Linked DNA regions of Homo sapiens: region 2 is linked to region 1. Evidence: promoter capture Hi-C in human tissues and cell types (Jung and others, 2019). All regions are on one chromosome and are shown on one strand. The core of a region is centred on a gene start or on the middle of the fragment in contact, and the rest is flanking DNA. Distances in the headings are between cores, read along the strand shown. Region 1 holds the start of PAX8 (paired box 8). Region 2 holds the start of LOC124906070 (a long non-coding RNA gene).

Region 1 (6,869 bases), core at 1-2,500:
GGCCGGGAAGGGGGAAAACAGGCATCGCGGCCTGGGAGCTCGAGTGTGTTTGAAGGCCCTGCTTCCGGGCGCAGGTGGGGAGGGGGTTTTGACTCCGCGAGCGGCTTAGTCCTCACCAGCCGGACGCCCCGCGCGCGGCGCCCGGCCTGCCCGGTGCTGGGCCAGGAGGAGTCGGAGAGCACCTGAGTGCGCTGCCGGCTCCCGGGCCCGGGACCACCGGCTCCATTGCCGTTGGCTTGAGAGATGCGGGGAGCTCACAGTCCAGCCAGGGGAGTCACTGGGAAGGACTGCGCGCACCCGAGGAAGAGGACTTAGAGGTCGGGGACGGGGAAACGGCAAGTCCAGCACCGGTGCAGCCCAGGGACAGAGCACGAAGAATGTCCACACTAATGCGCCATGCAAGGCTGGGAATGGAGCTCAAAGGAAACCCCCTCTAACTCCACAGAGATCCCCTCACCGATCCATGTGGTCCCTCGAAACCGGGCAAGGGCGGCTCAGCTGGCCGGGTGGAACCCCAGTGCCCGAGAACAGCGAGGCGGCTCCAGCGGAGGGCCAGGCCCCAGGCGCCCCAGCTGGGTCCCCACGCGGGTGGGTCCCGCGAATCCCGTGCTGACGCTCTCGAGATCCAACCACCCGAGCGCACGCACGGACGCTCAGCGGCGCGGGGGCTCGGGGATCCTGACCACACCGCGTTCTTACCAGATCTGATGGAGTTGTGAGGCATCGCCGGGGAGTCGCTCGCAGCCCGCCGAGGGCTCGGGGCTTCCTCCCGTAGGTCCGGGCCGCGCCTGCCGCTGCCCTGCACAAACCCAGGAGAAGGGCATGAGATGCGATGAGATTCGATGCCTGCATCCTCAGGCCCCCTCCCCAGGCCTCATCCTTTACACCTGCATCGTCTGCCAGGAGTAGGAGGATTTTTAGGCGAAGTAGGGCCAACCTCAGCCTAGCCTAGCTAACAGGCTTCCCGGGAGGATCAAGGATTGGGAGTGCGCTGAAGAAGCTCCAGACTCCAACCTCCGTGCCCACTCCCTCCGCTGTCCCAGTCTTATCCCGTTTAACTTGGGAGGGAAAAGGCTGCCAGGCATCCTGGGACCCTCTCCTTTCTTCCATCCCCCGTCCTCACTGCTAGCCAGCTTCCAGCTAACCCCTGGGTGACATACCTGGCCGGCCGGCTGCAGGCCCTCACTGCTTGGGTCCGCCCGCGAGGGTGCCCTGGGCCCGGTGTCTCTCCTCCTTCTGAAGTTTGTTCCCATCCACCCGGCATCACCGACCGGTTTTATCCCGCTGAGGCCCTGGGAGATGGGTCTGGCGAGGCTCGTAGGCCGCGGATTGGCTGGCTGGGTGCAGGGGGGTGCGGGAAGGGGAGGATTTTGCAAGGGGGACATGGCTGAGTGGACTCAGGAGTTAGAAACATTCGCTGGGAGCTTCTGTTTCCAGCGGAGGGAAGAGGGAGGCAGCTGAGCCCTAACTCAGCAGGCCTGGAAATATTGGAGGAGTGGGGAACAGAGGCCTAGGAGCCTGAGGATGAGGTTCTCTGGGTCCTCCTGGGTCACTGACCACCAGAAGTGAGAGGGATGGTCTCTGTAGGATGCCCTCCTTGCCCCCTGTCTCCCCTGGTTTGCTCACCAGGAAGCAGCCTTTTCTTTTGTAAAAGGAAGGAGGGAACTTCTGTTTTATGCCTGATTCTTTAGGTAGAGCCTGCTTTCGGGGCTGTAGGCAAGATGCTATTACCTTCTCACCACAGCTATGACCTCTTCCAGGGAAGAATCCTGAGCAGCACCTGAAGCCATTCCCTCTGTTCTACACAGATAGCGTTCACACCCTTGCATTGTCAGGCTAACAAAATTGTCACATAACCCATTCCACAGCAACTCCTCGCCTCTCTCCTCTGGAACACACACGCAGCCACCTGCCCTCTTTCTTGCTCCTTGAGGATTTTGAACTTGGAAGAAGAGTTCAGGGGAAGGGCATTGAGGGCCTAGACTTCATCTCTGTGTGGAAAGGCCTTAGAAAGGAACAGGACTGAGCTGACCTCTGGCCTGGTCTGTAGGAATCAATAGCCTCAGCAATATGGGGGCCTGGGTGTGGTTAAGAAGGGGTCCACTGGTGGGAATGATGGCAGGGTTGGTGAGCCCTGGGACCGAGCAGAGCTGCCTGGCACCTCTTTACCTTAGTGATGGCAAAAGCTGCCCCCTCCTTCCTCATAGTTCTCTCAGTCGGGGAACCGGGGTACACGTAAGATTGTGAGTGGGTATGAGTGAGCAAATGTCCTGGAACACTGGCAGGCCTGGGGGTCAAGGCCTGGATGCTCCTCCAATCTTTGGCCAGACCTCTGGACTCAGGATTACAGTCTAGAGGACAGCCATGCCCTTTTCAGTGATGGCTCTGCAGGCCTGGTGGGGTTGTTCTGGGACAGGAGGCTAAGAAGCCAGTGGGAGGGGGGCAAGGAAGGTGCAGGGGAAACTGGGATATTCAGGGGGATTGGATGTGTGTGTGTGTGTGTGTGTGTGTGTGTGTATGCACATATGTACACGTGTGTGAAAACACATGAACTATTTTTCTGAATTAAAAAAGTTTTCTCTTTCATGTCAATCCACAACCTCCTTCCACCCAGTCTTTCTCATTTCTCAATTTAGGAGAAATGAATCATCTTGTGAAAAAAGAGAGAAGAAGATGTGTATCCCTACATGTTTCCTCCACATTTGCAAAGAGGGGCTGTAAACAAAAATAGTTGGTGCTTCATCATTTTAAATCTTTCTCTAAAATTGTAATTTTAAATATCTCTGTGGTTTTCAAAGCTCCAGATCCCTAACTTCTCTGGCAGTCCCTCCCAGAGAGAGACAATCCAAGGGTGTTGGGATGGAAATGGATCTTGGCATAGGTCCTCCGGACCCCATGGGCCAGTTTGCTGCCCTGGATTGTGTCCTGCTGCAGGGGAGGTGTGGAGTGTGGCAGCCACAGCAGAAACTCTCTTTGTCCACCCAGGATTCCCTCCCACCAGGGAGGCAATGCTCCAGGGTGAATCTAATACGCCCTCATTTCAAACAGCTCTGACAACCTTAGAGATTCTACCCAATCTAAGGTTCTGATACGTACCAATAACCATTGACTCTCATGCAATCATTCTTGCCTGTGCACATCTTTTCTGCCCAAGCAATGAACCCTCTCCCTTTCCTATCCCCTTTTTGGGCAAAATTTCTTAGAGGACAAATCCAGCAAGTTATCAGAACATTCCTGTCCCATGTATAAATTTATCTTTAAAATTTCATTTCAAGGTAAAAACAATGTGCACTGTTCAAGGTTACTCCTCAGGGAAAAACACACCCCACACCTTGACAGTACCTCTTCTCCAGACTGCAGGTGACATAGCAGGTGACCAGAAGACTCAGCAGAGAAGATCTAGGACGAGCAAGAAGTGAGAATGCAGTGAACTTCTGCTGCAGAGATAAACACAGGCCTCCTGGACTGACCCTGCTTCTAATTAGAATCAGAAATCAGGCCTGGGTTCCTTGGTACTTCCTAATTCTCTGAGACCAAGGCCAAGGAAATGTCATTAACTGGTGCTTTAACTCTGTCTCTTTGGCATCAGTCTCCTCCTCTGCAAAACGAAAGGTTTGAAATACATATATTTTTAAAATCACCTATTATCACAGTATTTTTTCAAACTTAAAATCCATGATGCTTTTAGTTAAGAATAAAAATCATATGCCTTCCTATGATGATATTTGAAATTTTAAAATAAATTTGCACTGTGACTAATAGACTTTCAATGGGACTTTTAGAACTCTTTTTTTTTTCTTCTAGACTTAGTCTCACTCTGTCACCCAGGCTGGAGTGCGGTGGCATGATCTCGGCTCACTACAACCTCCACCTCCTGGGTTCAAGTGATTCTCCTGCCTCAGCCTCCCGACTAGCTGGGGCTACAGGTATGCATCATCATGCCTGACTAATTTTTTATATTTTGGTAGAGACGGGGTTTCACCACATTGGCCAGGCTGGTCTCGAACTCCAGACCTCAAGTGATCCGCCTGCCTCAGCCTCCCAAAGTGCTGGGATCACAGGCATGAGCCACTGTGCCTGGCCAGGCCTTAGAACTCACTTTTTAAAATGAATACCTCATTTGCCAACTTTTCTTCTCAGGCTTGAGGCCCATAAGGCTTTTGTGGCAATATTATCAACTGGCAACTAGTTATAATTTTTTTAAACTCAGTGTTTTTTTGAGAAAATGTAATTCATTGCCAATATCAAAATACAGAAGTAGAGACGAGAGACTAACTCTGCCTTGCCTTTGAAAATGCAAGAGATCTGGCCGCAGATCTGAGCGTTTCTTTGTGGAAATGAACATTCTTTCAGGTTTAACATTCCAACAATCCTAGGTAATTGCCTAACTACAGTGGTTTTTGAATTTGCATAATATCCCACAATTTGTTTAATTCTATGCTGATCTGCTGAGCCTTCAAAAGATGTTCTTTCTTTTCTGGACTCAGCTGTAATGCACTGGGCTGGTGGTAGGGTAATAAAGTGCCCTGGTTTGCCCTGGACGAAAACCAACAGTGTTTTCTAGATGCGAGTTAAAACTGGGACTTTCCCGGGCAAATCAGGATGAATTGGTCATCCTAGCTGATTAGAGTGTGGGAGTGGGATGGTTTGGGGGTCTTTTATAAGCTGCCGTGTTTCAACTGACTATTGGGTGGGTGATTGTTTGCACACTTGGGTCATTCTACCTGCTGGCTCAGGTGACTGAGACCCTTGAACTCCAGTAGGTCCATGAGCTCTTCCTCTTACTCCTATGTACCCTGGTTTCTCTGGGCACAATGCCCAGAGACCAGCCTCGAGGGAAGACCACTGCTCCCAACAATCCTCCTGGCTTACTTGCCACCATGCCACTTCCCCTACGTAACGAACCATTGTTGGGACTAAAGTACATCCCTTCAGGAAGAAAACAGCAGCTCTCTACTTTGCATCAGAGGTGAGTGTTCCAGCCCTAATTGTGTAGAATGGGATGATTTCTTCTGCCCGAACCTCAGTTTCCCCTTCTGCATGATGTGGATATAGACGGGGGGCTGGGGAGGGTCAGACCCACCTCGTAGCTTTGTTGTGAGGACGAATAAAATTATGAATGTGAAGGCCCTTTGAAAACTACACCTCTGTACAAAAGTTAATTATTATTAGACAACAAAGGCAGAGGAATACATCCAAAGAGGGCAAAGTTAAAATGTCCCTAAAGTTTTGCTGTGGAAGTCGGTTCCTTTAATCCTTTCCCAAAGGAGCCTTGGAGAGGAAAGGGCCAGTGAGCCCGTGCCTGTGGGTGCAGGCGTGGGTGCAAGGGTAGCAGTGGGGCAGGGGTGTCTGTGAGGGCAGCAATTAACATTCGTTGACCCAGAGAGAGGGGAGAGTCAATGGCAGAAGGCCAGCACCCCAGCAGAACTTCCAGCAGCGACTTCATCATTTTGCAGAGGGCAGAAGTGTTCAGGGCACTGGCAGTTTTCGCTCCACCCTCTCCCCTCACAGACTTGCCCAATCCTGCCGAAGCCACGTGGGATTTCAACCCTGTCCCTGCACTCAGGAAATGGCCGACAGCCTGCCCTGGGGCCTCCTGGTGGCAGTGCCTGAAAATCAATCATTAATTATTCCAGGTTCTCCACCTCCCTAGGCTTTGAAAACTCAGAAATAGAAATATAGGTCCTGGCAGGTGAAAGGAAAAGAGCCACTGGTTGGGCTGCCGAGGGCAGTTTGGAAGAAACCACTGGTGGCATTTGTCCAGTTGGTTTGGGTAGGGATGTGTCCTGGGCACTTGTCCCTTGGGCTCTTTGCCCACCCCACAGCCTTTGGCAGCAGTTGCCTGGGCTTCTGGAAGGAGACCCTGGTACTTACAAATGGGTGGAAAAAAAACTTCCTGGGGACACAAAAAGGAAGGTGACAGAGGGAGATAAAAGGATTGACGTACACAGCTCAATTTTTTTCTCTAGTAATCATAGTTTTTTTTTTTTTTTTTTTTAAGTTAGAAAAAATGAGCTAGACCCTTTTGGCAACCCATCTTGCAGATGAGGAAACTGGATTCTAGGGAAGGTAAGTAGAGAGCAAGGCCACCCAGCTAGCAGACAGCCAACTAGGTGGCCAAATAAAGCACCAGTGACTCAGGCTTTGCCTTAAATATTATAAATTCTACTCACTTCAGCCTAGTTTTTGCTACTCTCCACACCTGCCCCTTCCCCTCAGGAAGGAAGTTTCTGGAACCCAGGGAGTGGCCAGGGTGAGGTCAGACCCCCAAGGCTGGAAAACTTTCCTACCACGGGAGAGGAGAGCAGCTCACCAGGCAGGAATGCCCTCCCCTCAGCTAGGCCCCTGTGGTCCAGCCCAGAGCAGCAGGAGTCAGGACGCAGGAATCCTCTCAGACCAGTGCCAGGGCCCTGGAGTGGCTGCCTTCCTGACAGCTGTTCTTGGGGAAGTGCCAAGGAAAAAACCCAGGCCCAGGGCTTTTCATCAGATTCAGGGTTGGCTTTTGTTCTTTATGGCCTTGGAATGCCAGCAGTTCCTGCTGTGGGCACAAACCACGGAATAGGGCCTATCCTCCCCAGCTCCTGGCAGTGCCCAGGGGCCTGGTGAAGGGACCAGAGACTCTGCAGGTTTGAGTGGGGCAAGGGAACGAGGTTGAGGCATAGAGAAGATTCAAGAGATCTAACTGGCCTTTTGCTTACCCCAGGAGGGCTTCTGGCACATTCTGAGTGCAGTAAACTTGGGTGCTTCGCCCACTCCTTCATGGGGCTAGGCTCACTACAGGGCTGTGTCCTCTTGTGTCATGTTGTGGACCACACAGTGCCTGCCTTCCCTGCATCTGAAGGAGCAGACTTGAGGGCTTAGGGGTCTGG
Region 2 (6,113 bases), core at 3,581-6,080, 80 kb after region 1:
AGTCCCTTGTTTCATACTAAAATTCAGTTTTAGTCTCTAACGGGTCTCTGTGGAAATGTCTGTGTGTAGCATCTGAAGGAAGTCTCTGGTGCTCTTGTCTTATGGTGCCAGCCTCATTGGTTTGTCATTCTTTTGCTGGTGCAGCCCATTGCAATTTGCATGGTGCCATCACATGCTCATGTGAGACGGGGTCCCTCCTTTGAGAGTCAATAACGAGGTGACCAATGTTGGCAGTGAGTGAGCATGCTCTGGTCTCTGTCTTCCTCACATTTGTTATTTTCCAATGTGTGTTTCTGTCTGGGTTCTCACCTGACTCTGGCAGCCCAGGTAGACAGAGCAGGCATTGCTCCCTCCATTTTGTGGGTTGAAAAACTAAGGCTCAGAAAGTCCTAACCGAGGCATTTTCTGGAATTGGGAACACAGGAAGGAAACATATTGGGTGGTTAAAACACGGAGTTTGGCTTTAAACCTCTTGCACTTGAGGTGTCTGTGGCGTATTCGTGAAGTTAATGTGCAGCCTTGAATACAGCTTATAGATGATTAACTGGGCATGGAACGAGATCTCATATCCTGATTATTTTGCTTTATCTGTACATTTCTCCACTCCTTCCAGCTGTTGTAGTGTGTTCTGTCTTCTTGATCCCAGACGTCCTGGCTTGGTTTTTCTCAAGGCCATCCTCCTTAGCCTCACCAACCTCATTGGCCTGGTTGCACACAGCTTCGAGTGCCCACAGACCAACTGAAGGGGAGCTGCTGTCTGCTGGGGAGGGTTCTAGTGGAGGAGTCTGTGGGTCCCTGTGAAGAGAGTCTGGGAGAGGGTGCAACAGCATACGGGCTTCACCATCCATTAGCAAAAGCAGAGGCTTTTAAAACACAGTCCATCCATCCAAATGGACCTTCATGTCTATTTCCATAAGGTCCTGAGGCCCAGGCCCACCTTTACCACTAGTTAGCTGAGAAGTACTAGGGCTGAAGGTACTGATCCGGTGCTTGCTGGAGCCTGCCACACTGTCCCCACCCTACCTGTGTCAGCTTAGTCTGCAACCCCAGTCAACTCTGTTTTCTTCCACCTTGAAAACTCTTTGAAAGAACACAAGAAGTGGGGGTCCCTGAGGGCCGGGCACCCCTCATGTTCAGGCCCACAGGCCATTTAGGCAGCTGCTTCTCCAACCTTATCTTCCTTCTGCCTCCATGGAAACCTGAGAAAGACGGAAAGGGGGAAGCGGCTGTGCTTTCCCAACACAAATAACCCCACAGAGCTTTCTCAGCAGTGACCCTTAGCCTGTTGTGTCAGCCTCAGGCTGAGGGAGGAAGGAAATAGACCTTCTATTGAGTATTTTTCTTCCCCTGTCAAGAAGATCAGAGGAACTAAGAGGGAAAGAAAAGGAGTCAAAAGCACCTTGTGGCCTCCTCCTGCAGGATTTGTGTTGCTCTTCCCCTCCCCTCTTGAACTCTAAGTAAACAAACTCCCCAGCCAAGGAAGGCCCCAGGCCCAACTCCAAGCAGGCCATAAATAAGAGCCCTTCAGCCTTTCACTCTCTGGCAAGTCGGGAAGGCCCTTCTGAGTGGAACATTTGATAGCGGGGGAGTGCTGGGGGGAGAGTCCTTGTGTTAATTGAATCCCAATTTCCTTCTCCCAGGCCCACTCTTATCTTTTTAATTATACGAAGCCTTTAATCTTCCCAGGACCTGTCTCTGTCATTAATGCGTGATCCTATTAGAGATAGGGGTTTGCTCAGGGGTAATGGGAGCCGCAAGCAGAGGCCTTTGGCAACTTTTTTGCTTTCTAAAGCACCCAGAGTTACCTGGGGCTGAGGCAGGGAGACATTTTGGGCTCCCCTCAGCTCTCAGATGGAGTTCCTTGGGCCATCTGTGTTTAAACCGTGTCTGAGATTAGACTCTTATGGTCAGTATCTGTTGTGGCCCTGAAACTGCAGAGTAGCTCCGTCTAGCAGCTAAGGGGCAGATGAGTTCAGGCAACCTGCTTAGGAAAAAAATCAGACGAATTGTACTCGCAGGATGCTGGGTGCCCAGGTGGGATTCCAGAAGGAGTTGAGGCATTGTGCATTTCCTAAATGCTAGAGCATACCTTTGGTGCTGGTGAATAAAGCTTATGTTCTCACGGGCTTTCCCTAACGCTGCAGAGATGCATTACCTCCAGGTGACAATGGCTTGGGACACTCCAGGGTTACCTTTCTCTTCAACCCCAGCTGCCTTGTCAAAGGCCTAATGAGCTGTAAACCAATACTTAGGAATGCAAAGGCCACACCCTACTTGAAGGGGTTTGGCTCATATTAAGTGTTCAATAAGTGTTTGCTAAATAACTTTTAAAACAAGAATTCCAAGAGCCATTCACTTTAGAATATGAATTCGCAGGTATTTATTGCGATTACTGCTTCTCATTTACGGCTCAATTCTACTGGACTTTTTTTTTTCTGGGCTACAAGGTGGCCTGTAGGGTCCCTTCAGCAAGGTAGTCTGGTATTTCACACATCCCTAGGTGTACAGAAAGATGGGTAAAGCTGAGTCCCTGCAAGGGGCCTCATGCTCAGTTAGGAAGATAAATTTTGTTAGTTTTCAATACATAAATATATGTGTATATATGTATACGTGTATATAAGTCAATATATAGATATATATAGTATACAACTGTATATACAATTACATATGCATGTATATGTGTGTGTGTATATTTGTGAATTGTCTTCAGAGACTTCGGCTATGATTTCAACTACATATATATGTACACACATATATACTATACATATACACACATATATGTACATATATACATACATTTATATATACACACACACAAATATGTATAGTTGAAATCGCAGCTGGCTTCTCTGAAGATGGGAGTCCATACACAGAACACCGTCAGCAAACTGTATACCTGAATGAGTAAATATTCAGATTCTGCACTGAACATCGTGTCTTGTCATCTCCCTGACTCATTATGCACAACCACTTTAGGGTCTGTAGCAGAGATGCTGTCACTGACAAAGGTCACATATCTAGAAGGTGTGAGAGTCTGGATTCTAACCCAGGTCTGATCACAAAGCCCAGCCCTCAACCCCAGAGCTCCATAGTCAAAATGTTTCTCTTTGCTTGCAACCACAGTGTCTGCTCCTGAAAGTGTGTAGGTCTGGTCACAGGCTCTTGTGAAGACATAATGATCCTGGACATGGTCCAGAGAAGAGCAATTAAAACACTCAAGGGGAAGAAAAGGCTTCTGTTTGAGGACAGATTTTTAAAAAGCAGTAAAATCTGAAAAAAGGCAGAGTGAGCAGGGCATGATGGAAATCTCTAGGATGTGGAGAGAACCAAGAGGGAGACAGCCTGCCTGCCAAGGTGGCACTCACTGAAGCTTACAACCAGCAGTTTTAGGACAATGACAAGAAAGTTCTACTTACCACGTTCCATAAGTTTGCTGCCTGCTGTGTGATCCCAAGAGGTGGCACAGGCTGAAAATATAAATAGAATCCCATCCTATGAACATATTGCTGTGAGCTCCCTACAGAACGCCTGGCTTCCCATTGTCAAATTCAAGCTCTCAGTTTCTAATGGTTGAAACCAGGAGTGAGCAAACATTTTCTGTAAAAGATCAGAGTAAATATTTCTGGCTTTGTGGATCAACACTGCCCTAAATGCTCAACTCTGCCATTGTAGTACAAAAGTAGCCATAGACAGTACCTATGAATGAGCATGACTGGGTTCTATTAACATGCTATTTACACAATTAGCAAGGCCCAGATTTGACCAGCAAGCTGTAGTTTGCCAACACTTGGTCTACACCAATTCACAGTTGAGTTGAATCATACAATTTAAAACTGGGAGGCATCTTGATGATCACACCTTTATTTTATAGAGCAGGAGGGTGACATCCAGAGATGTCAGATGAATTTCCCAAGGTCCTATAGCTGGAGACCCACAGTGGGTTATTAGGGTTGTCCGGGGAAAATATTTAGATGCTCTGAAAATAGTTTCATGAAGGATGGGAGCCAAGTGTCCCATGCCGGGCATTTCTGACTCTCTTAAATATATGTTGGTGCTCAAAGACTGCCTTTTCTTAGAAAATATATCAGTTTAGGAAGGATTTGGAAATATAGCCCTTATTTTTAAAGCTATAATATAGCCCTTATTTAAAAAAAAACTGAGGGCTGTTTAAAAATCCCTGGAAATCAGAAAACAAGAAACATACTTCTCCCTCAAGTCCCTCACCCCTACCCCTAGTTCTCAGATGGGAGACAATTTTATTTCTTGACAGGTTCTGCAAGGGGCATTTGCCCTCAGAGCTGATGGCCCTGCGTCTGTCAATGCAGGTTGTACATCTCCCTCCCTTAGGTAGGAAGGTGCTCCTTAGGAGCTTGGTGTTGGGCCTGTCCACTGAGAACATTCATCTTCCACATTTGGGCAAGACTTTGCTGAAAACAATTGCTTTCCATACTCTGTTGGCTACAGCCAGGAACAGTTCAAATTTTTTGGTGCTCAGAGTCTTTAGCAGGAAGGTGAGTGTGTGTGTGTGTGTGTGTGTGTGTGTGTGTGTGTGCAGCTGGTGTGGGGAGGGAGGGAGAGGAGCAGCAGCTGACAGCTCAGGAATGCATCAGTGCTCAGAAGGTTCTAAGAATGATTATGTAGATAACTTGTTTTTTTTCTGGGACCCATTGAAGATCCCTCATGAAAATAAAAACTCATTGACTCAAGTAACCCTTTAGAAGTCAAAAATCTTAGTGGGAGACAGATGTATCACCGTTGCAGGTTTGGTGTCTGGAGCCCTCAATGGTATCCCCAATTCACTCTGTTCCTTGAGTCACTTCCTTGGTTGACTCAGTATTGTGGTCTGGGTCAGAGAGGTGAGCCATGTGCTCTTTGGCACTTTAGCAAAATGGCTAAGGTGGGGAAGACAGTAAAGGTGAGGGGACAGTATAGGCTATCTTAAACCCTGATGGCTTATTTTCCTCTGGAGGTAGCTTTGAGCTTCTGGAATAGAAGGGACTCCATCGTAAAGGCTTAAAAAGGAGTCGATCAGCTGGAGATTTGGTCCACATAACAAGTAAGGCCACTTGGCCTTTAAGAAGTGTGGTGATGAGGGAACACTGGACTCTGAGAATCCAGCTGTGGTCCAGTGACTCCCTGAGCAATTCCTGTCCAAGAGATGTCTCTACTTGAAGGCCACACAAATCTGTCAGTAGACAATTTTTTGTAACCAATTGCAAGATTTCCTACCTGTTGGTTGATTGCAAGAGGTGATCAGGCTGTTGGCCTTATAAACAGATGACTGATGCAGGCCTGGCTCCTGCAGGTGAAGAAGGCTGCTTCAAATTTGTGCTTCAGAGCCAGGAAGTCCTGGATTCAGGTCTCAGCTCCAACACTTACCAGCTTTAGTTCATTGCAGAAGTTATTTTGATTTTTAATCTCAGCTTTGGAACATAGAAACCAGTCTGTAGCAGATGCTCAGTAAAGGTCATTTTCCTTTTCATCCCAACCTTTCTCACACTTGGCCACTCTCTTGTTCAACTCCCCCACCCAGTGCAGACCTGGACACTCCCAGAGAGAAGGTCACACCTCATTGGGAAGCTGTTCTTGAGCAGTTCCAGCTTCAAGTCATCCCTGAATCTACCGCTCATTCAGCATATAACTGCTCTTCAAATATGCTAAGTACTTTTCTCTCATTATAAAGTTGACACATGCATTGCAGAAAATTTGAAAAATATAGAAAACATAATTTGGAAAGCATCCCCAATAAATATAACTTGCAGTGATGAGCACTGTTAGCATTTTGGTATGTTTCTTCCTATTTGTGCTTGTGTGGGCAGGCATAGGTTTTACAAAATTGGAATCACATTGACTGTAGATTTTGTATACAGCTTGTTCTTTTCACTGACATTCTGACATTTCTCATATCATTAAAGTCTTTGAAAACATATTAAATATTTTTAATGGTCACCAAATTTTCTGTGGCATGGATATATTGCAATGTGTGTAAGGTATTCTTAGTTTTGGATACCTAGACTGTTTCTAATTTTTCAATATTATAAACAACACTGCCATAAATATCACTGTAGGAAAATCTTTGCCACATTCTGATTACTTCTTTGAGATAAATTCCT

Evidence for each region. Contacts are between HindIII fragments. The study calls those that stand out against the background at their distance.
Region 2: a fragment that was not itself captured here is called in contact with the fragment with the promoter of PAX8 in region 1 in 2 of the 25 tissues and cell types used here (neural progenitor cells and spleen).

Annotation. Positions count from the first base shown.
Region 1 is chr2:113,277,671-113,284,539 of GRCh38, forward strand. PAX8 (paired box 8) reads right to left here and starts at 1,251. Exons shown (of 12, transcript NM_003466.4): 1 at 1,161-1,251; 2 at 700-799. The coding sequence starts at 724. RefSeq lists a promoter at 724-1,853. The HindIII fragment of the contact is 12,536 bases long and covers 1-6,869 here.
Region 2 is chr2:113,354,260-113,360,372 of GRCh38, forward strand. All of the region lies in intron 2 of LINC02966 (long intergenic non-protein coding RNA 2966), which reads left to right. LOC124906070 (a long non-coding RNA gene) reads right to left here and starts at 5,385. Exons shown (of 3, transcript XR_007087202.1): 1 at 5,230-5,385; 2 at 3,417-3,467; 3 at 1,116-1,199. The HindIII fragment of the contact is 7,963 bases long and covers 850-6,113 here.